5 separate regions of the Homo sapiens genome follow, and regions 1, 2, 4 and 5 are each linked to region 3. The links are contacts of gene promoters, found by promoter capture Hi-C in blood cells and fetal thymus (Javierre and others, 2016). All regions are on one chromosome and are shown on one strand. The core of a region is centred on a gene start or on the middle of the fragment in contact, and the rest is flanking DNA. Distances in the headings are between cores, read along the strand shown. Region 1 overlaps NUP133 (nucleoporin 133). Region 2 overlaps NUP133 (nucleoporin 133). Region 3 holds the start of RAB4A (RAB4A, member RAS oncogene family). Region 4 overlaps NUP133 (nucleoporin 133). Region 5 overlaps NUP133 (nucleoporin 133).

Region 1 (4,206 bases), core at 291-2,790, 230 kb before region 3:
AATGCTGAAATTACTCTGTTTTAGAAGAAGGAATATATCTCATCAACTGGAACTTGGCACATCTTGCCTGTAGGTCCTTGGGAGCTTTAGGGATAGTTGTTTTCAGACAACTACTAACCTTTCTATACATTGTTCTGTTTTAAATAAATAAATGTATATATATATATTGGTATATATGTGTATATTTTTCCCCTCTAAAAATTTCAGTTTACATTTAAACCTTTTAATGTACTACTCATATTTTAACAGACTAGATTAAATAACACAGCCCCAAATCTAGAAATTCAGAGAGTCCTTAGAAATTAGGATATATAAAACAAAGAGGTGTGTCAACTTGAAGAACTCTTCCCCACTTAGAAACCTGCCAACTACTGTTAAGTCAGCCCTTAAAGGCACACCGGTCGAGGATCTGGAGTTGTAGTGCTTTCAAGAAAAAGAAAATTACTGAGCAGATAGTTCAGTTGAGCAAAAAGCCTCACTCAGCCTGGGCTTGGTTTGATATTTTTGCTTGTACATTGTCTATGCCTTTTACTTCACCCTTCTACCTTTCTGTAAGTAAAGAGCAAAGCTCAACTTAATAAAATTTCCAGGGCTGTTAACACATTTGTGGAGGTTTACCACCAATACTTAAGATATGTGCTAATTTAGTTTTGTCACTTAATAGAGAACGTAACTCTTTGTCTCCATGTACTAAATAATTTATCATTCCTTTAAGGAGCTCTTATTTGAAAATTATGTGCTTTTGGTCCTCCAAAAGCACATTGTTTTCCTTGAAATGTTTTATATAGTTAATGAGTTTGTTATTTGTTTTACTTTATCGATATAATTATAAATGTTGCTAAATATTTCTTTTTTGTTTGTTTGTTTTGAGACAGAGTCTTGCTCTGTTGCCCAGGCTGGAGTGCAGTGGCGCGATCTCAGCTCAATGCAACCTCTGCCTCCCAGGTTCAAGTAATTCTCCTGCCTCAGCCTCCCGAGTAGCTAGGATTACAGGTGCACGCCACCATGCCCCCATGCCTGGCTAATTTTTTTTTCTATTTTTGGTAGAGATGGGGTTTCATCATGTTGGCCAGGCTGGTCTCGAACTCCTGACCTCATGATCCACCCACCTCGGCCTCCCAAAGTGCTGGGATTACAGGCGTGAGCCACCCTGCCTGGCCTCTCTTTTGTTGTTTCTGCTTACTTATTTTTTGATATGGAGTCTTGCTCTCTTGACCAGGTGGGAGTGATGTGATCATGGTTTACTGCAGCTTCAATCTCCTGGGCTCAAGTGGTTCTCCTGTGCCTCAGTCACCCTAGTAGCTGGGAAGTGCACTGCCAAGCCTGGCTATTTTTTTTTTTTTTTTTTAAGAGAGAGAGTCTCACTATGTTGCCCAGGCTGGCCTCAAGCAGTCCTCCCAGGGTGGCCTCCCAAAATATTGGGATTTATAAGCATGAGCCACTGTGCCTGGCCTAAATATGTCTTATAGGAAATAAGCTATCTGGTCTGTTTGTAACAAAAAATTAAGGAATATTAAATGTCCCAAATACACTTTTTGCCTTTAGATATATTTCTTTTTTCTTTCTTTTTTTTTTTTTTTTTTTTTTGAGATGGAGTCTGGCTCTGTTGCCCATGCTGGAGTGCAGTGGCACGATCTCGGCTCACTGGAACCTCCACCTCCCAGGTTCAAGCGATTCTCTTGCCTCAGCCTCCCAAGTAGCTGGGACTACAGGCACGTGCCACCACACTCAGCTAATTTTTTGTAGTTTTAGTAGAGTTGGAGTTTCACCATGTTAGCCAGGATGGTCTCGATCTCCTGACCTCGTGATCCTCCCACCTCGGCCTCCCAAAGTGCTGGGATTACAGGCGTTAGATATATTTCTAAAGTTGGTTATCAGAGTTAATAGATCTATTGTTTTTGGTGTTGATAATTTTGGAATATTCAAAAGTATTTGTTGTGAGGTAGTCGTTTCTGAGTGTGCCAATTACTTTTTTTTGATAAAGCGTGTGGTAATAAAGATTTATACTATAAGATTAATCACCCACCTCATTTTTTCCTTTAGTCGATGACCAGCTGACCATTAACATAGATGAAGGTGGATGGGCTTGTCTGGTGTGCAAAGAGAAGCTCATTATTTGGAAGATTGCTCTGTCACCTATTACTAAGGTAATGGCTCTTTAGAGAGCTGGAACAAGATAGAGGAGAGGAATGCCAATTGACTTTTCATTTTTACCCTAATTTTTTTACAGTTGGAGGATAGTCAATAGGAAACTACTTAGGCATTAAGAGTTTGCATTTTCATAGTGATGTGAAATAATGAGCATGCATACACATTTGTGTATTGGGAAAAAAGTTTCCCCCTTTTGAAGATCTGTGTTGTTTACATTTAATAAAATTAGAGTCATTGATATTTCCAATGAATATAATGCTAATCCGTCTGCCTAATGAAGTATCAGACTAAATGCTATCCACATAAGCAAATGAACTTTGAGTTTGCGTATTTCTGAGAAGACAGAACTATGTTTTGTTGAACCTACTGAATGATGCTTAATAAAATAAGAAAATATGATACCAGTTGCTAGTTAAACTTTTCACTTGTCCACTTCCAACAGTGGGTTATCATTTGCATGTCTAGTAACGTATCCTCAGCAACCTTTTTCTGTTTGTTACAGCTTAGATACACTACTCTCTTCTACCAGTCATTACTTCCTTGGCCATGTTCCGTTGGAACTCAGGGCTCCTGCTTACCTCAATTCTTCACTTCTGCTGAACTCTGTGTTACTGCTGCCTAGAAAAGGGTGTATGTGGTTAGGAGTAATAGGTGAGGGTGAATTCCTGGGGGACATACTGAGTTAGCTGCGGGATCCTGATATTTGGCTGAGAGTCTAAGAAATTGTTTCCTAGGTAACTTGGTATAATTACTCTTTGGTCATGCTAATTTTAAATGTCAGATGAACAAATCAAGAGTAAATTGGGAAAGTTCCATAGGAAGCCTAAGCACTCATCTTAACCTTACTTAGTCTTCTCTTAACTGGACTTTTCTAGCCCAGGAAGAGGTTAGGATAGTTGTTCTTCAGAGTTTGGTCTACCTTTAAGTTTTCATGATTCAATACTCTTAAGATACTTTGTTTTAAAATTACTGAAAGCCTGATTAAAAGGAGATGTGAGAAGAAAGAATATTTGTAGAATGGTGTTTCCAGCAGTGAGTCAGAATCTAAAATATGCAGAGAAGGGAAATCAGATGCATCTTCAAAATACTGGATTTGATGTGAAAGATTTTCTGTTTGGGTTTGTTCTACAGTTATCCGTTTGCAAAGAACTTCAGCTGCCACCTAGTGATTTCCACTGGAGTGCCGACTTAGTGGCTCTTTCTTACTCTTCTCCCTCAGGTGAAGCACATTCTACTCAGGTAGGTGACTTAAAAGCTTATTTAAATAAACTTTTTACAACAAGGACATCCTAAAGTTAGAGGAATCATCCTCTTTGATTTTGAGATATAACTATAAACCTATAGAAATCAAGATATTGTGGTATTGGCAAAGAGAGCTACACACATAGGTCAGTGTAACAGAATAGAGAATACAGTTATAGATCCACATAAAGGCACCCATTTGGTCTTTGATGAAGGTGCAAAAGCAATTCAGAAAGGATGGTTTTTGACGATGATTTTTCTCTGTATCAATGCATAGTGTAGGAACATTTGTAATTTTAAAATTACAAATGACCAATTTGTATTGTATTGTATTGAATTTTCCCTTAAACCTCATACCTTGTTACAAAGATTAATTTGAAATGGGTCATAGATCTAAATGTAAAACAGTAAAACTTTTAGAAGAAAACAGAAGAAAATCATCATGACCTGAGATTAGACAGAGTTCTTGGAAATCACCAAAAGCATGATCCATAAAAGAAAAGTTTGATAAAATTAATAATAAAATTAAAATAAAATAAAAATTTAAAGCGTTGCTTTGCCAAAGACAAGAAAATGAAGAGACAAGTTACAGAGTAAGAAGAATTTGCAAATCATGTATCCAGCAAAGGACTTGTATCCAGAATATTTTTTAAAATTCTAAACTTGATAAGAAAACAATGCAGTTTAAAAACAGGGGCTAGGACTTGAACAGACACTTAGTGAGGATATAAGGATGGCACATAAGCACATGAAGAGATGTTCAGCATCATTAGCCATTAGAAAAATGCAAACCAAAACACTGGTGAGTTCTTA
Region 2 (4,162 bases), core at 1,663-4,162, 170 kb before region 3:
TCTCGGCTCGCCGCAACCTCCGCCTCCCAAGTTCAAGCGATTCTCCTACCTCAGTCTCCCAAGTAGCTGGGATTACAGGCATGCGCCACCACGCCCAGCTAATTTTTTTGTATTTTTAGTAGAGACCGGGTTTCTCCATGTTGGTCAGGCTGGTCTCAAACTCCCAACCTCAGGTGATCTGTCTGCCTCGGCCTCCCAAAGTGCTGGGATTACAGACATGAGCCACCGCGCCTGGCAAGTACTACTTTCTCACAATCATATCCTTTCTGCAGAGGAGGACTTCCACCTATGGAAATGGTGTTTATGTTACGATTCAATGACAAAGACTAAGAATAATCAGTTGAAGGAACAAATTCTTTCCAGGAAAAGAATTTTAAACAAAGCATGAATTGACTGCTAAAAGCCTTCTCCTACTCACAATTTTCCTTTTTCCTGTGGTAAAATATTATAGAAGAGCTATTTTTACTAAAGCATTTCTTCCCTCCTCTGATCATTCCAAAATAGTTAAAATTGCTGTTAAGTTTAGTCTTAGAGGTCAGTCCCTGAAGCTTCTAGCTTTCTGCCTACTTGATTGTTTGGTCCCATCCCAGTCATACAAAAGGATGCTATCATTTTGATTAGAATTCCTTGTCTTAGTTTCTTGTTTAAAAATTTTAAAGTTATCATGTCCATTGATTACAGAGCAGTGGTTTGGTATTTTTATTTTAGTAGTAGATAGTCACAACTACATAAAGAAAGCTTCTGGCTGGGTCCAGTGGCTCATGCCTGCAATCCCAGCACTTTGGGAGGCCAAGACAGGAGGATTGCTGGACCCCAGGAGTTCAAGACCAGCCTGGGAACATAGCGAGACTTTGTCTCTACACAAAAGTAAAAAATTAGCCAGGCACAAAGTGGTTGCATGCCTATGGTCCTAGCTACTCGGGAGGCTGAGGTGGGAGGAACACTTGAGCTGGAGGAGTTCGAAGCTGCAGTGAGTCATACTTTGGGGTCCATACTGAATATGTTACTTACTAATAGAATTTTCTTCAGAAAGATACCTCACTACTTGGTTTCTGAAATCAAATAGGTAAGAGTTATATTGAGTCAGTAGCTACCTTGAGTATAACATCTTTTTTTAAATGTGTTTTCCTTGGCGTCTCTTGCATGTTCCCTAGAGTGTAATGTCTTATATCTAATGTAGAAACTGTCAGGGTATTCAGCATGTAAAGTGCCTTTATTTAAATGATTTGAAACAGTATCACAAAACTCAGATTCTCCATCCCCCACAGCCATCAAAATAAAACCATGATAGCAAACAAATCATTTAATTCAGCTATATCAGTGATTTCATTTTTCCCTCATAATGATTTTGTTTTCTAGCTGGTCCAGTTCTGATGGCAAAGATGATCCAATTGAAGTATCTAAAGACAGTATATTTGTGAAGATCTTACAGAAACTTTTAAAAGATGGTAAGTGGTTTGTTACTATACCGTTGGAAATTACAGTGTCATTCCTCAGTTTTTTGGGTTTTTTTTTGAGACGGAGTCTTGCTCTGTCACTCAGGCTGGAGTGCAGTGGTATGATCTCGGCTCAGTGCAGCCTCCACCTCCCGGGTTCAAGCAATTCTTCTGCCTCAGCCCCTGGAGTAGCTGGAACTACAGACCTGTGCTACCATGCCTGGCTAATTTTTGTATTTTTAGTAAAAGCAGGGTTTCACCATATTGGCCAGGCTGGTCTCGAACTCCTGACCTCATGATCCACCTGCCTTGGCCTCTGTCTAAAGAAAAAAAAAAAAGAACCAAGAAGCTTTCATTTGGAGTCTGTCCACACTGATCTCCAAGCATTAGTATTCAGATTTGTAGCTTCCTTTCATAGCTGTAAAAATGCCACAGACTGAATTGTGTCTAATTAAGTATCTAGCACTAATATTTAAGGGCAGCTTTGCAGTTTTTGTTATTCTTAGTGGATTATAAAACAGGTGAAAAACAGGAATGGAAAGTCATAATTTCATAAAGGACAAGAACAGTGGAAACTTTTTTTTTTCTTTTTTTTGAGACGGAGTCTCATTCTGTTGCCCAGGCTGGAGTGCAGTGGCTCAATCTCAGCTTACTACAACCTCCACCTCCTGGGTTCAAGTGATTCTCCTGCCTCAGCCTCCTGAGTAGCTGGGATTACAGGCACGCACCACCATGTCTGGCTAATTTTTGTATTTTTAGTAGAGACAGGGTTTCACCATGTTGGTCAGGCTGGCCTCGAACTCCTGACCTCGTGATCTGCCCGCCTCAGCCTCCCAAATTGCTGGGATTACAGGCATGAGCCACCACGCCCAGCTGAAACTTTTATTTAAATAAAAATATAGGCAGGTGCAGTGGCTCACACTTTGGGAGGCCAAGGTGGGAGAATCACTTGAGCCCAGTAGTTCAAGACCAGCTGGAGCAACATAGGGAGATCCTGTCCCTATTTTAAAAAAAAAAAAAAAAAAAAAAAAGAGTTGAGCACAGGGGTGCATGCCTGTGTTTCCAGCTACTGGGGAGGCTGAGGTAGGAGGATTGCTTGAGCCCAGGAGGTGAAGGCTGCAGTGAGTTCTGATGGTGCCACTGCACTTCAGCCTGGGTGACAGAGCGAGACTCCGTCTCAAAAAAAAAAAAAAAAAAAAAAATTATATATGTGTGTGTATTATATATGTATATTTTACATATATAAGGCGTGCGGTTTTTTAATAACAGGACAAATGTACTTTTGGAACCTTCTTAATATGGCTTTCATGTACAATAGTGTTTTTAAAGGACAGATTCTGAAGGTAGGGAGATACAGATAACCTTGCATTATATTTCATAGGCATTGACAGTGCAACAGCTACTTCAGCCTGTGCATTCTTCCTGCAGACATATTTAAATTACCCACAAGGTTTGTTTTTACATGTTACCTGAAATACATTATACATACAGAACAAAATGCATGTCTCATTAAATGGAGTTTAAATTTTTTTCTAGTTAGTCACCAACATTTAATAGTTGAGAATGGTGTTATAAAAGTCTTATTTTGCCAGGCACGGTAGCTCACGCCTGTAATCCCAGCACTTTGGGAGGCCGAGGCAGGAGAATCCCTTGAGCTCAGGAGTTCAAGACCAGCCTGGGCCACATAGCAAGACCCCCACCTCTACAGAAAAAAAAAAAAAAATTAGCTAGGCTTCGTGGTGCATGCCTATAGTCCCTGCTACTCAGGAAGCTGAGGTGGGAGGATCACTTGAGCTCGAAAGGTCAAAGGATTGAAGCTACAGTGAGCTACGATCGTACCATTCCACTCCAGCCTGGGTGACAGAGTGGAGACCCTGTCTCAATAAAAAATAAAAACTACAATTAAGAACCAAAAAATAGGCTGGGCACAGTGGCTCATGCCTGTAATCCCAACACTTTAGGAGACTGAGGTGGGTGGATCACTTGAAGTCAGGAGTTCAAGACCAGCCTGGCCAACATGGTGAAACACCATTTCTACTAAAAATACAAAAAATTAGCCGGGTGTAGTGGTGGGCACCTGTAATCCTAGTTACCGGGGTGGCTGAGGCAGGAGAATCGCTTGAACCCAGAAGGCAGAGGTTGCTGTGAGCCGAGATCGCGCCATTGCCTGGCCAGCAGAGTGAGACTCCGCCTGAAAAAAAAAAAAAAAAAGAACCAAAAAATGATGCAAGGCCCTTTGAGTTTTTTTTTTAAACCAGTATCTGATTTTGAGAATCTTATGGTAATGTAACAAATTATAAAAATATTATTGGCTTATTAATTTGAAAATTTTCATCCAGTTTTCTCTATTTGTCAAATGAGAAAATTGTGTATGTTTGTTTGTAACTACACAGATGTCAAACAATCCATTTAGTTCATGTTCACTGTCTTTTCAGCTCTATGGATGACTTGTGAAGAAATGATTCTTTTGCCTATCTAATTTTAGATTTATACTGTAAACACATTTTGAGATCCTGTAGCTAGCGTTCATAACAGTGTTTCTACTAAATTATTCCCTAAATAGGGGATCATATAAGTGTTTGAAATACTTGTTTTCAAGCTTGGGAATACATGAAAACGTTTCAGATCTTATTAAACACTTTAAATAGAATGGCTATTTTGACCACTGGAGGGAAAAACACTCAGGCAGCCCCTGTAAAGGATATCACATTGTTAGACTTGAAAGT
Region 3 (4,135 bases), core at 912-3,411:
CTGAAGTGGAGATGCCAAAGATAAGCTCTATTTTATCAGTTGTTATCATGCGTATACGAAAAATGAAACATAAAAGCTCTATCTCCTGAACTCTTCCAATCCTTTCTTACTGATTCATGACCCCCACTTGCTTTTCTTATTTGGACATTCCACCCTTCCCCTAGTGCTCCGTGCTCCTTACTCAGGTTAAAGAAACTAAGCCTGGGCTAAAGAGCACTTGAAAATAAAGAAGTGCAAAGATGTAACCAAAAATTGCTAAAGACCATGTTTTCCTTACAACATTTCTGACTGTGGTTCTCTACAGGAAGAACCAGACCACTGCCATTTGCAGAAACATTTGCAAACACTTGTCCTGATGAAGGCATCGACTTACTGGAGGATTTCCTACGCCTTCTAGGAACAGATGTCATGCCCCTTTGTCACCAAGAACAGGGCAGTACCAGTCACAGGAGTCACTCACTGAAGGTGGACCAAATGCACTGTGACCCCAGCATGGAAGCCCTTCCAAAAGTTCCCATTTTTTCTTACAAGACAAACTGACGCCTTCCTCAAGACCCTCTCCTCTCTGCCTCCTCATCCACCTCTCCAGCGTGGTACTCAAAACACACCCTTCTTGAGTTACCCTTCCCACAGGCCTGAGATGTTCTGCGTGCTGCCTGGTTAATGCCTCCCTGACACCCCTGTCTGGGTCATCTTTCTTTCTAACACACTTTCACGGACCACACTCCTTCAGAACTCTTGCCTGGTTTTTAATTATTCACTCATTAGTATCACAATTGGATTAATACTGCATTCCCTCAATAGACTACGCTCCATGAGACCAGAGCCGTGTCTGCTGTGTTTCTGCAGGATGTACAGCCCTCCCAGCACGGTGCTCGCTTCCCTAATGCCATTCCACAGTATTTGTTGCAGAGAAGGAAGCAGCATGCCAGGACAGATGGAGACAGGACTAATTTGGCTTGAGGTATGTAATTTTGAACTTGAGCCTCTCTCTGGGACTGTAAAACTCCAAATCAAAGTCTTAATCTGAGAATACATACATCTGAAAGAGTGATTAGGGACTGGTAAACATCTATTAATATTCAACTCTGATACAAAGTACAAGTTGTTTATTCTTACCACGCAAGGCCAAAAAAGGGGAGAAAAAAAAAAAAGCACACAGCATATGCACTGGGAAAGCTTTCGCTTATTCAAAACAGTATTTGTCAAGCACCTCCAGGTCTGGGTGCTGCAGGGGAAACAAAGATTAAACAGCCAGGGCTTTGCTTCCAAGGTGCTTACGGTCTTAAGAAGGAGACAAGACATGTTTATAAATAGCCAAAATGCAACCCAGAAAAGGCTAAAAAACACTGAGAGGGAGGGAGAAATAAACGAAGCAAGAGGTCTCCGGAGGAAGAGATGAATGAATTAGCCTATTAATAACTCCTCACTGTAATCCCAATGTAAAGCAAGGAATTCCAAACCAGGAAAGGTCAAACTGAAGTATTTGAGGAACACAGGCGTCGCCCTAAGCCCTTCACAGGCTCGCTGGGGATAATATCGCAGCTGAAACCGAACATCAAGCTGGCTTTTCAAACCTTCAGTTATTTACATTAGACTGAGAGGGGAAAAGCGCTAAGAGTGCAAGAGCAGAGAAAGAGCAAGAGGAAACTTGAAAAGGCGGATCACGCCAATGCGCTGTGCACAGCGCCCCCGCGCCCCGCGCACCCGCTACCCCACCCGAGCCCCCAGCGGCCCGCGTCCCCCATCCCGGTCCCAAGCCCAGACACCTCCGAGATCCGTCCCCCGGCTCCGGCCGGCGCCACCGCCACCCTCAAGACCCCCGCAGCCCAGGCCCGGCCCCGCGCCACCGACGCCCCCCGCGGCCCGACCCGCGCGCCCCGCCAGCCCGGGCCTCGTACCGTAGGTTTCGGACATGGCCGTCTGCGACATCTTGGGAGCGGCGCCGCCTCTCGCCGGGTCACCGGCTGCACTCGCCCGCGGTCCGCCGGCGCGTCTCGGTGGGGAAGGACCTGGGGCGGGGGACCGGAGGAGGGAGGGGCCCGACCGGTCCCCACGGCAACCGCCGGTCTCCCAGCGGCTGCGGCCCAGCCGGACTCCAGCTCCGCGCAGGCGCAGGGCCCTCCACCCTCCGTCCGGCCGCGACCGCGAGGAGGAAGAGGAGATGGGCTACGCGAGGCCCGGCCCACCCCGCGTTCGCGCGTGCGCACGGGGAGGCCGGGGCGGGGCGCGTGAGGACTTCGGCGCGCGCCGGAAGCACGTGCGCGGGCTGGGCGCTCTGGCGGTGTGCGCTGAGGTGGGCAGAGCGGCAGGTGGGGGCGTTGGGGGCTGAGTCCCGATTTCCCTGAGGGAGGGTCGGGTAGAGGCGGGCGGTGGGCAGGTTTGGGGGTGACAGAGGGCTGGGGACAGTGGGGTCCAGTTGCCGGACAGAGGAGGAAGGTGCCCGCACTGGGGAGGAAAGCAGTCCATTTGCCAAATTGGCCCGTCTCAGTTAAGACGTTGTCTTCGGTCATCATCTGCGGCTGTCAGCCAGGAAAAAACTTCCCTGACGCTGTTACGATGGAGGCCAGAACTTGGTTAATGTGTAACAAGGAGGCAGTAGGCCCCAGGTGTCCAGCCAGAGGCCGCCCTGTGAATGGGAGGCAGGTTCATTTACCCGTTGGGAAGCTAAGCTTTCACTCCAAACTGCCGGGCCCTCTTGGATGGAGCTGAGCGGGTGTGGGCGGAATGACAGAAGCGCAAGATGCCCAGGTGCTAAAAGGTCATCGCAAGACTACAGGCTGCAGCCTCTCCACATCCCATTTTAGAGGGTTCTGGATTACGGTTGAGAAGTATCTCCCGGCCCTCAGCTGGGGATGTGTTTCCAAATTTAGGAGTTTTTTTAATTTTTATTTTTTAACAGGGTCTGGCACTGTCAGCCCAGCCCAACCGATTCTCCTGCCTCAGCCTCCTGAGTAGCTGGGGCTAGGGGCTCACACGACCACACCGCGCCAATTTTTAAATTTTTTGTAGAGATGGGGTCTTGTTATGTTGCCCAGGCTGGTCTTGAACTCCTGAGTTCAAGCATCCTCCCTCCTTGGCCTCCCAAATTGCTGGGATTACAGGCATGAGTCATCTCACCTGGCCTTGGATAGTTTGGTTTCAGAAGCAAAACTGAGTTAGAATCCCCTTCTGTGGGAAATGTAGAGATAAACATTTATGGGAAAGAGAATTTTGGTTGAGGATTTGGCCCATCTGAGCTTGATCAGGGCCACATAGCGCCTCATAGTTCCCAACCTTGTTCACAATAGGTAGTCGAATGCTCAAAATATCCTTGGCTAAGCTCCCAAGTGACCTGGACTGTGTGGAAAATGCCAGTACATACTTTTGTGTGTGTGTGTGTGAGTCAGTTTGGCTCCATCCTCCACATAAATTGGCATCAGAGCTTCCCTCTTCCCCAGTGGCTATTTGGGTCGGTATTTTTCTCTTGTCTCCGATCCTAATAACAAATAAATGCAGTTTTTTCTAAATCACAGAGAAGGCCCCATGGTGAAAAGTTGTGACAGCTGTAATTCCTAAAACTGTTTTATATATATTTCTTGTTCAGTGGCTCAGATCATTTGTTGCTTTCTTGTTTGTCTCTCTGCATGTCGTGTTTGATTTAGGCTCCTGAGTATAACAGATTGGTTCTGATTAAAACCATTTCAGAGGAAAGACAGTGATCCCAGGAAGCGGGAAGAAAACAGCATCACCTGAAGTTATTCCTATTCGTTAGATTTGTTTTCTTCCTGCGAAAAACTGCTATGTACAAGAAAGAAGTCAGTGAGCTGCAGTGATAGTTAGCATTATTGACTGAAACTGGACCAGAGATCCCTGAAACCTGGACAAGGTGGTAGAAATACAAATTATGCTGCCATTTCAAAGCTGTGGGCAGTTTTCTACTTTGTGGAAAATGAAGACTTAGGTAGGCCTTTGGGAAAGACGATTTGTTTTGGAAAAACCACCCAAAGGGATCATTTGGTTTGCAAATGTAACTGCAGTATCACAACTGGAAGAAGAAATATACAAGGGCGAGGTTTGAAGGAGCCCTTCAGTATCCTTGGATGATACTGTGGAAGATTCTTTGCATCTCAGTAACTTTGGATCTTTGAAGATC
Region 4 (4,621 bases), core at 351-2,850, 210 kb before region 3:
GATCTTGGCTCACTGCAAACTCCGCCTCCCGGGTTCAAGCGATTCTCCTGCCTCAGCCTCCCAAGTAGCTGGGACTGCAGGCGTGTACCACTACACCTAGCTAATTTTTTTATTTTTAGTAGAGATGGAGTTTCACCATGTTGGCCAGGCTAGTCTCAAACTCCTGATTTTAGGCTGACTCCTAAAGTGCTGGGATTACAGGCGTGAGCCACCACTTCCAGCCGCATGCAAAGTTTTATTGGTAATATTAAAGAATTATGGCCTGGTGTGGTGGCTCACACCTGTAATTCCAGCACTTTGGGAGGCTGAGGCAGAAGGATCTCTTGAGCCCGGAAGTTCGAGACCAGTCTGGACAACATAGACCTCATCTCTACAAAGAAAAATTTTAAAAATAATTAGCCGGGCATGGTGATGCACGCCTCTAGTCCCAGCTACTCAGAGGCTGAGTTGGGAGGATCATATGAGCCCGGGAGGCCAAGTCTACTGTGAGCCATAATCACACCACTGCATTCTAGCCTGAGTGACAGATCAAGTCCCTGTCTCAAAAAAAGCAAAAGAATTAGACCTGGCCTATTAGTTGAGTTTTGCTTTACGCAAAATCACCACAAACCTTAGTGACTCATTTAACATAGCTGACAATTCTGCAGTTTGACTGTTGGGGCTGGACTCGGGGCAGTTTTACTTTTCGGAGTAGGCTCACTCATTTTGGTCTGCAGCTGGGCTGGCTGCTCTTTACCGTACTCACATTTCTGGGCCATAGGCTGGCCAGCTCGCTCTCTATTCCTGTGATGTCTCCTCAACTAGCAGGCTGCCCTGGGCTTATTCATGTATCACAGGGTTCTAGAGTGGCAAGAGAACAAGTGTCAGTGCACACTCTTTAAGTCTTTGCTTGGATGGCGTTTGCTAGTGTCCTGTTGGCCAGAGCAAGTCCAGCTGTAGTGAGAGCGTGCCTAAGCAGATGCGCGTATGGGGTGGGGAGTGATTGTCCTCACTTGGTCACACTTGCTGCTCTAATACTCTTCTGGGTTTAAGGCAAATGCAGATTTCAGTTTATCTTAGACATGTATTCTGCTCATGTATTCTGGTACTTTCCTTAAAAGGTATGGCAAATTCACATTTGAATAAATACTCAGGAAAATGGTGATCCAGCCCCCCTGCTCTGCCCCTTGTTAGCTGTGGGAAACTTTGGACAGATGCTGAACATTTCTGCCATTGTGTTTCTGTTTCTTCCTTTTCGAAGTATTGAGTGGGGTGGGAGTTAGCATGGCTAAAGGATCATTAGTTTATCGTCAGATCTTTGTTTTGAAGGAATATACTGAGTGTACTACCTTCATTTCCCCCAGTTCTGAGCCCATGGTTCCATAATCCCACTCATACTGGTGTCTGATGCATAGCGGCTCACTCACAGAGACAACAGATTCCAAAGTGCTTTTACAGTTCTAACATTCTGTACCTCGTGATCTACTGAGCTTAGTTTGTCACCAGAAGGGGGCACCATTAGGCAAGTTTTTTGTTTCTGTTTAAAATTATATTCTTTTAATCTTGTTCTTTTACATGGTTCAGTCTTCAAAAATCTCAGTTGAAGTACTGTGTTTTTATCTTTCACAAGTTTATCCTGTAATTAAAATTCTGTCACATTTGTGGCATCTCAAAATGTAAATGATAATGCAGCAAGTGACCAGTCATTAGATTTGTTTCCTGTGGCTGCCATAACAAATCACCACAAGCCAGGAGCTTCAAACAACGCAAGTGTCTTCTCTCACAGTTCTGGAGGCCAGAAGTCTGAGAGCGAGGCATGAGCAGGGCCCTCCCTCTGAAAGCTCTGAGAAAGGATCTGTCTTCACCTCTCTCAGCTCCGGGTGGCTGCTAGCAATCCTTGGTTTGTAGATGTGTCACTCCAGTTTCTGCCTCCATTGTCACGTAGCTGTCCTCACATTCACATGGCCTTTTTTTTTTTTTTTGAGACAGAGTCTCACTCTGTCATCCAGGCCAGAGTGCAGTGGTGTGATCTCGGCTCACTGCAACCTCTGCCTCCCTGGTTCAAGCAATTCTTCTGCCTCAGCCTCCCAAGCAGCAGGTGCACACTGCCATGCCCGGCTAATTTTTTGAATTTTTAATAGAGACGAGGTTTCACCATGTTGGCCAGGCTGGGCTCAAACTCCTGGACTCAAGATCCACCCACCACAGCCTCCCAGAGTGCTGGGATTACAGGTGTGAGCCACCATGCCCAGCCCACGTGGCCTTCTTATAAGGACATCAGTCATTGGATTTAGACTCATCATAATTTAACAAATTGTATCTGCAAAAACCTTATTTCCAAATAAGGTTGCATTTTGAGGCACTGGGTAGATATGAATTTGTGGGAGACACTATTCAACCTGGTGTAGTCATCTTAAGATGTTTTACAGGGGAAAATTATTAGGCACAAGAAGGGACCCCTGATCTAAGTCCTGAGCAAGCAGTACCCTCAGGAACAGTGTCATGGGCCCTGTAGCACAGCTGTGCTGAACTCATCCTGCCCAACATGGGTGAAGTACTATGGACTTAATAAGGGATGATTTCTGGGGGAGTGTCAGCTAGCTCTCTTAAAGATGTAGACTCCTTACAAACAGAATTGTGGTGCCTTTAAAGCTGGATTTCTCAACCCCATTAACATTGTCATTTGAGGCCGGGTGTGATGGTTCACACCTGTAATCCCAGTACTTTGGAGGCCAAGGCAGGCAGATCATTTGAGATCAGGACTTCGAGACCAGCCTGACCAACATGGTGAAACCTTGTCTCTTCTTAAAAAAAAAAAAAAAAAAAAATAGCTGGGTGTGGTGGCACATGCCTGTAATCTCAGCTACTCAGGAGACTGAGGCAGGAGAATCGCTTGAACCCAGGTGGCGGAGGTTGTAGTGAGCCGAGATCCCGTCACCGCACTCCAGCGGTGCATTGTAAGCTGTTTAACAGCATCACCAGCCACTTCCTGCTAGATGCCATTAGCACCCTTTCCCCCAACTTGTGATGCCCAAAGTTATCGTCAGACATTGCCAGATGGCCCCTGGGGTCACAATTGGTAGATAACACTTTTAAGTGTGACTGTCTGTTTAATCTTTTGCTAAGGTAATATTACTGTTTTTATAGCATCATTTCTTTGAAATTGATTTTTATGTTATTTTGGTTTTCATTTTATTTAGCCCAAAAAACACTAAATCTTTTGTTCATGAGAGTTTTGGGGAACTTTTTCTGTAATTTTTTATTAAATCTTGCCATAGTCACCTTTGTATTTTCATAACCTGTAGCGTGACTGGGTCACCAGCTTCACCCTGGCCTTTCACGCTTTCAAGAGTTTTTCTGCGTTTCTCCAGTCAGCTGTGTCTCCTGTTCTACCAAGGGACCATGACAGCCCTTTTCCAGTCTCCTCCCACTTCCCTCAGACTTAGCAGAGGACTTAACTTCCTACTTCACAGAGATCACAGAAGCCCTTGATAAGAGCTCCCTGTACCTCCTAGCTTACTAGCTATGAATGTATCTGGATCCCAAATCCTGTTCCTCTTTCCCTCCCAATAAAGTAGGAAGTGTACTCTTCTTCCTATCAGAGACTGCTCTTTGTTTTGAAGGCCACTCTCTCCTGCTTCACTTAAGACTACATCCTTTCAGTTCTCCCTTTCCTCTGTCCTTTGACCTTTCTCGTGCTGGCTCCTTCTCATCAGCAATTAATCATATTTAGTCTGCCATTTGTAAAAAGACCAGTCTTTGACTTTGCGTCCTTTGAGTTACCACCTTATCTGTTTGTTCCTGTTGATGGCTAAACCACCTGAAAGGATGTCTACATTCTCAGTTGTCGACCACATTCCCTCTCTGTCTACTCCCTCGGTGATCTTTTCTCCTCCTTGGCTTCATTTGCTGAAGAAACAGATGTACCATGACCCGGGCCATTATGTGAAAATGGAGAGTGTCCAGCAGCAGTACATATTTCATAGGCACTTGAGTTTCAACGTATCCAAAACCGAGCTTATCTTCTCCAAAGCTTATTCTTCCATCCTTACCCCCTGCTCCAGTGACAAGCACTACCATCTCTTCAGTTCAAAGCAACAACAGAGGAGTCATTCTTATACAGTTGTTCCCCCTTACCCACAGGGGGATATGTCTTAAGACCCCCAGTGGATACCTGAAATTGCATATAGTACTGAATCATATATATACGTTTTTCCTATAGTACCTATGATGAAGTTTAATTTATAAATTGGGCATCCTAAGAGATTAAGAACAATAGTAATAAAACAACCGTAACAATATACAATTGACCTTTGAACAACACGGCTTTGAACTGTGTGGGTCTACATAATATGCAGGCTGTTTTCAACCAAATGCGGATCAAAAATTCACAGCATGTTTTCAACCAAATGCGGATCAGAAATTCACTTGCTTATGCAGAAGGTCGCCTTTTTGTATGCTGGAGCTCCACAGAGCCAGCTGCAGGACTTGAATATGGGTGGATTTTGGTGTATGTTGGGGGTCCTGTAACTAATCCCCTGTGTATACTGAGAGATGACTGTACTGTAATAAAAATATGTGAGTGTGGTTGGTCTCTCTCTCTCTCTCTGTCTCTGTCATCTGTTTTCAGACTGCAGTTGAC
Region 5 (4,290 bases), core at 21-2,520, 190 kb before region 3:
TTGTTAATGTAACTGTCTAAATATTTCTCATTTCTATTTTTTTAATTACTCAAAACCTTGCTACTTTTACTATTGACTAAAACGTTCCATTTAATTTTAGCTAGTGGACTTGTAGTAATGATTTTCCTACTTTGCCAAATAATTTTCCTACTATTATTTGCCAAAACTGAAGTTAAATTATGGAGTAAAACAAATTTCAAAAGCAGAAAGAACCAAAAAGTAATCATGCAGATCTGTGCTGACTTTTTTCTCTCATTTTCTTTTCTTTTCTTTTTTTTTTTTTTTTTGTGAGACATGGTCTCACTCCATTGCCCAGGCTGGGTTTATAGTGGCTTGATTATAGCTCACTGCAGCCTCCACCTCCTGGGCTCAAGCAGTCCTCCTGCCTCAGTCTCCCAAGTAGCTGGGACGGTAGGTGCACGCCACGATGCCCAGGTAATTTTAAAAATTTTTTGTACAGATGGGGTCTCACTATGTTGTCAGGCTAGGAGCAATCCTCCTACCTCAGCCTCCCAAAGCACTGGGATTACAGGTGTGAGCCAACATTCCTGGCCCCTGAGTATTTTTTCTTACTAATTTACTTTGCTGTCTTAAATTATCTTCAGAAATACTGTGATCCATCACCTTTTGCATGTGATAACACATTAACTTTTTTTCCAGGATATGCTGCAGGCTGCTAGTCATTATCGCCAAAATAGAAACTCTTTGTATAGAAGAGAAGAATCACTAGAAAAAGAACCTGAATATGTTCCATGGACGGGTAATATACTGATTTATTAACAGTTGTTCAAAATATATTTCTAATGACCCATCATTTTTAGAAGTTGTGTTATTCCCCTAGCGTAGGTTTGTAAGTGAAATGAAAAAGTGCCGTCTCCAAAATGAGCAGCTCTTGTCAAAATCACTTTATTCGTCCCTTGCTCTTATTTATCGATCTCTCTATAATTTATGTATTCAACTGGTACTTATGCATTTACTAGGTTTTAGTTCAAATAGTTATTCATAGAAGCAGTCCTGGCCCCGGAGGTATGGACTATATTTTATGTTGATTTAATACAAGAAAGTAAGTGGAGTAGCATTAAAGGAATTTAGAAGGAAGAAGAGTCATGTTTACCTGGCTTTGCTGAGGAAATCTCCTTGGAGAAGATGGGATTCAAGCAGGGCATTGACAGGTATCACCTGAATCCCTGTTCAATGTAATTTTCCAGCAGTGATGAAGAGGCATAATTTTTATGCTATTAGTCTTTCCTTTAGCCATCACTAGATCCCTTACTTTAACCATATTATTTTGTGTAATTTCACAGCAACAAGTGGTCCTGGTGGCATCCGAACGGTAATAATACGCCAGCATGAGATTGTCCTGAAGGTGGCTTATCCACAGGCAGACAGCAACCTCCGAAACATCGTGACCGAGCAGCTGGTAGCCCTGATCGATTGCTTCCTGGATGGTTATGTTTCTCAGCTTAAGTCTGTGGATAAATCCAGTAATCGGGAAAGATATGACAATCTGGAGATGGAATACCTACAGAAAAGATCAGATCTCTTATCTCCTCTTCGTAAGTTCATGATACTTGGCAAGAGTTTTAAATTTGCTGAATGGATGAAAGGGTTGAATAGTTAATTCAGTATATTCAGTGTGGTAGTGTTAATCCAACTGTAATAAAGAACTTAAAGCAAATATGCACAGCTTTCTGTGCTCATTTATTCAACTTTTTTTCCAGTACTATCTAGGTATAAGTACCATAGATGATACTGAAGACAATTAATAAATACATAAACAAACAACATGTGGAGACTACCCTTAAAGAGCTTAGCATCACAGACCTTTACGTGAATAACTGGATTGCAAAGTAGAGCCTGGTGAGGGCTGCTTGAGGGGTACAGATAAGATATTATGGCTGTTTGGCAAAGGACACATTATACTCCAGGCTAGGACTGGGAAGAGTTTGCTTTACTCTTACATGAAGGAAGAGAATAGCGTTTTGGGGAGGCAGTGATGAAACAAGGGTCTGAATTTGCATCTTTTTTTTTTGTTGAGACAGAGCGTCACTCTCTCGCCCAGGCTGTAGTGCAGTGGTATAATCTCAGCTCACTGCAACCTCCATCTCCCGGGTTCAAACAATTCTCCTGCCTCAGCCTCCCAGGTAGCTGGGATTACAGGCGTGTGCCACCACAACTGGCTAATTTTGTATTTTTGGTAGGGATGGGGTTTCACCATATTGGCCTGGCGGGACTCGAACTCCTGACCTCAGGTGATCCACCCGCCTCAGCCTCCCAAAGTGCTGGGATTACAGGTGTGAGCCACCGCACCTGGCCTGAATTTGCATCTTTAAGAAATTGATGTGAATTGTGAAACTAAGTGCCAGTAAGTGGGAAGGTTTCCATTCCATTAATGATTGTTGGTTTATAATAGGAATAAAGATAAAATTTCAAGTAACATTTTTTATTACAGATTTTAAGTTTTGCTAACAGGATTTTTTCCCATCTTTTCTCATTCCCACAGTTTCACTAGGCCAGTACCTGTGGGCTGCTTCTCTAGCAGAGAAATACTGTGACTTTGATATATTGGTACAAATGTGTGAGCAGACTGACAACCAGAGCCGACTCCAGCGCTACATGACCCAGTTTGCTGATCAGGTGATGAGTGTTGGGTGTGTGGCCACTGAGTCCTTTAGTTGCCTTTTCTTGAAATGGCTTTGCCATTTCAAATCTGTAATCAGGGCTTTTGGAATATGATACGATCTTTTTGTAGTTAACTTTGATGAGAAGATACTAATTTGTATGTCGCGTTTCTTTGTAAATTTTGTCCAGTAGCGAGATCACAGTTCACGACAGCCTCAACCTCCTGGGTCCAATCACTTCTCCCACCTCACCCCCTCCCACACCTCCTGCTTTCCAGTAGATGGGACCACAGGAGCTCGCCACCATGCCTGGCTAATTTTGTTCATTTTTCAGTAGAGACAAAGTCTCGCTATGTTGTCCAGGCTGGTCTCAAACTCCTGGGCTCAAGCGATCCTCCTGCTTCAGCCTCCCAAAGTGCTGGGATAACAGGCATGAGCCATCGCCTGACCACACAATTCTTTATATATAAATATTACTGAAAGATTCTTTGACCTTTGGAAAATATAACTTTCATTTCTGTTTATATATTTTCTAGTTATTATAAAAGTACTTAGGTACATGAATATTGGTAAAGTTCTTAAAAATTGTATAGAAGATACTCGGGAGCATAGAAGACTACTTTAAGAGAGCTTAGCTTTACAAATACACCTAACATTCTCATTTTCCTTGAGGGATATTATGCTTCCTGTTTAAAAAACAAAGTTCCCAGCCAGCCTCAGTGGCTCATGCTGTAATCCCAGCACTTTGAGAGGCCAAGGCGGTAGGATCACTTGAGGCCAGGAGTTTGAGGCCAGCCTGGGCAACATAGACCCTGCCTTTACAAAAAAAATTTTTTTAAAAAACATGCCACCACACGCCCATGGCCACACTTATTCAGGAGGCTAAGGTGGCAGGATCGTTTGAGCCCAGGAGGTCAAGGCCAGTGAGCCAAGATTGTGCCACTACACCACAGCTAGGTGACAGAGGAAGACCTATCTTTAAAAAAAAAAAAAATTTCCATTGTGACACTATCTTAAGTGAATTCAAAGTTGTTGCTTGAAGCCAGTCTATTCAGTCAGTTGATTACTATGAAAAGCTTATTTTTTATTACTGTAAAAGTGATATTGTATAAAATTTAGAAAACCACTATAAACACAAAAGATAAAAATCACTCAAAATGCCACCACCCAGAGAGAACCTTTTAAGCATTTGGTTTATATTTTCAGTCTTTCCACTCTATGTATTATAAACAAACATGTTTTGTCAACTGCTTTTTTCACTTGATACATTGCAAACATTTGTTCATGTCATTAAATATTCTACAGCAGCATTTTTAATGGCATTATAGTATTTCATTGACTGGGTATGACTTACTTCATCAAAGATCAGTTGTTGGGCTGGGCAAGGTGGCTCACGCCTGTAATCCCAGCACTTTGGGAGGCCGAGGTGGGCAGATCACCTGAGGTCAGGAGTTCGAGACCAGCCTGGCCAACATGGCAAAACCCCGTCTCTTCTAAAAATACAAAAATTAGCCAGTCATGGTGGCGTGTGCCTGTAATTCCATCTGTTCTGGAGGTTGAGGCAGGAGAATCCCTTGAACCCAAAAGGAGGAGGTTGCAGTGAGCCAAGATCGTGCCACTGCACTCCAGGCTGGGCAACAGAACAAGAATCCGTCTCAAAAAAAAAAAA

What was found. Contacts are between HindIII fragments. The CHiCAGO score rates a contact against its expected background, and 5 or more counts as called.
Region 1: a fragment that was not itself captured here is called in contact with the fragment with the promoter of RAB4A in region 3 in 16 of 17 cell types (total CD8 T cells, total B cells, naive B cells and 13 more); the score reaches 9.5 in total CD8 T cells.
Region 2: a contact is called between a fragment that was not itself captured here and the fragment with the promoter of RAB4A in region 3, in 5 of 17 cell types (endothelial precursors, M2 macrophages, megakaryocytes and 2 more). The highest score is 8.3, in endothelial precursors.
Region 4: a contact is called between a fragment that was not itself captured here and the fragment with the promoter of RAB4A in region 3, in 13 of 17 cell types (naive B cells, total B cells, naive CD8 T cells and 10 more). The highest score is 9.3, in naive B cells.
Region 5: a fragment that was not itself captured here is called in contact with the fragment with the promoter of RAB4A in region 3 in 13 of 17 cell types (M2 macrophages, endothelial precursors, megakaryocytes and 10 more); the score reaches 9.4 in M2 macrophages.

The regions. Positions count from the first base shown.
Region 1 is chr1:229,499,940-229,504,145 of GRCh38, reverse strand. NUP133 (nucleoporin 133) reads left to right here. Exons shown (of 26, transcript NM_018230.3): 3 at 2,044-2,147; 4 at 3,283-3,390. Among named protein-coding and RNA genes, the nearest start is that of NUP133, 6.3 kb to the left of the region's middle. The HindIII fragment of the contact is 3,736 bases long and covers 1-3,408 here.
Region 2 is chr1:229,442,200-229,446,361 of GRCh38, reverse strand. NUP133 (nucleoporin 133) reads left to right here. Exons shown (of 26, transcript NM_018230.3): 25 at 1,360-1,448. Among named protein-coding and RNA genes, the nearest start is that of ACTA1, 10 kb to the right of the region's middle. The HindIII fragment of the contact is 2,250 bases long and covers 1,788-4,037 here.
Region 3 is chr1:229,269,137-229,273,271 of GRCh38, reverse strand. RAB4A (RAB4A, member RAS oncogene family) reads right to left here and starts at 2,161. Exons shown (of 8, transcript NM_004578.4): 1 at 1,902-2,161. The coding sequence starts at 1,932. RAB4A-AS1 (RAB4A antisense RNA 1) reads left to right here and starts at 2,118. Exons shown (of 2, transcript NR_149313.1): 1 at 2,118-2,296. RefSeq lists silencers at 1,620-1,779, 1,820-2,349. The HindIII fragment of the contact is 1,493 bases long and covers 1,182-2,674 here.
Region 4 is chr1:229,479,039-229,483,659 of GRCh38, reverse strand. The region is part of intron 12 of NUP133 (nucleoporin 133); the gene reads left to right. Among named protein-coding and RNA genes, the nearest start is that of NUP133, 27 kb to the left of the region's middle. RefSeq lists an enhancer at 3,806-3,855 and a silencer at 4,560-4,621. The HindIII fragment of the contact is 4,829 bases long and covers 1-4,014 here.
Region 5 is chr1:229,461,890-229,466,179 of GRCh38, reverse strand. NUP133 (nucleoporin 133) reads left to right here. Exons shown (of 26, transcript NM_018230.3): 17 at 661-760; 18 at 1,305-1,556; 19 at 2,504-2,637. Among named protein-coding and RNA genes, the nearest start is that of ACTA1, 30 kb to the right of the region's middle. The HindIII fragment of the contact is 4,858 bases long and covers 1-3,699 here.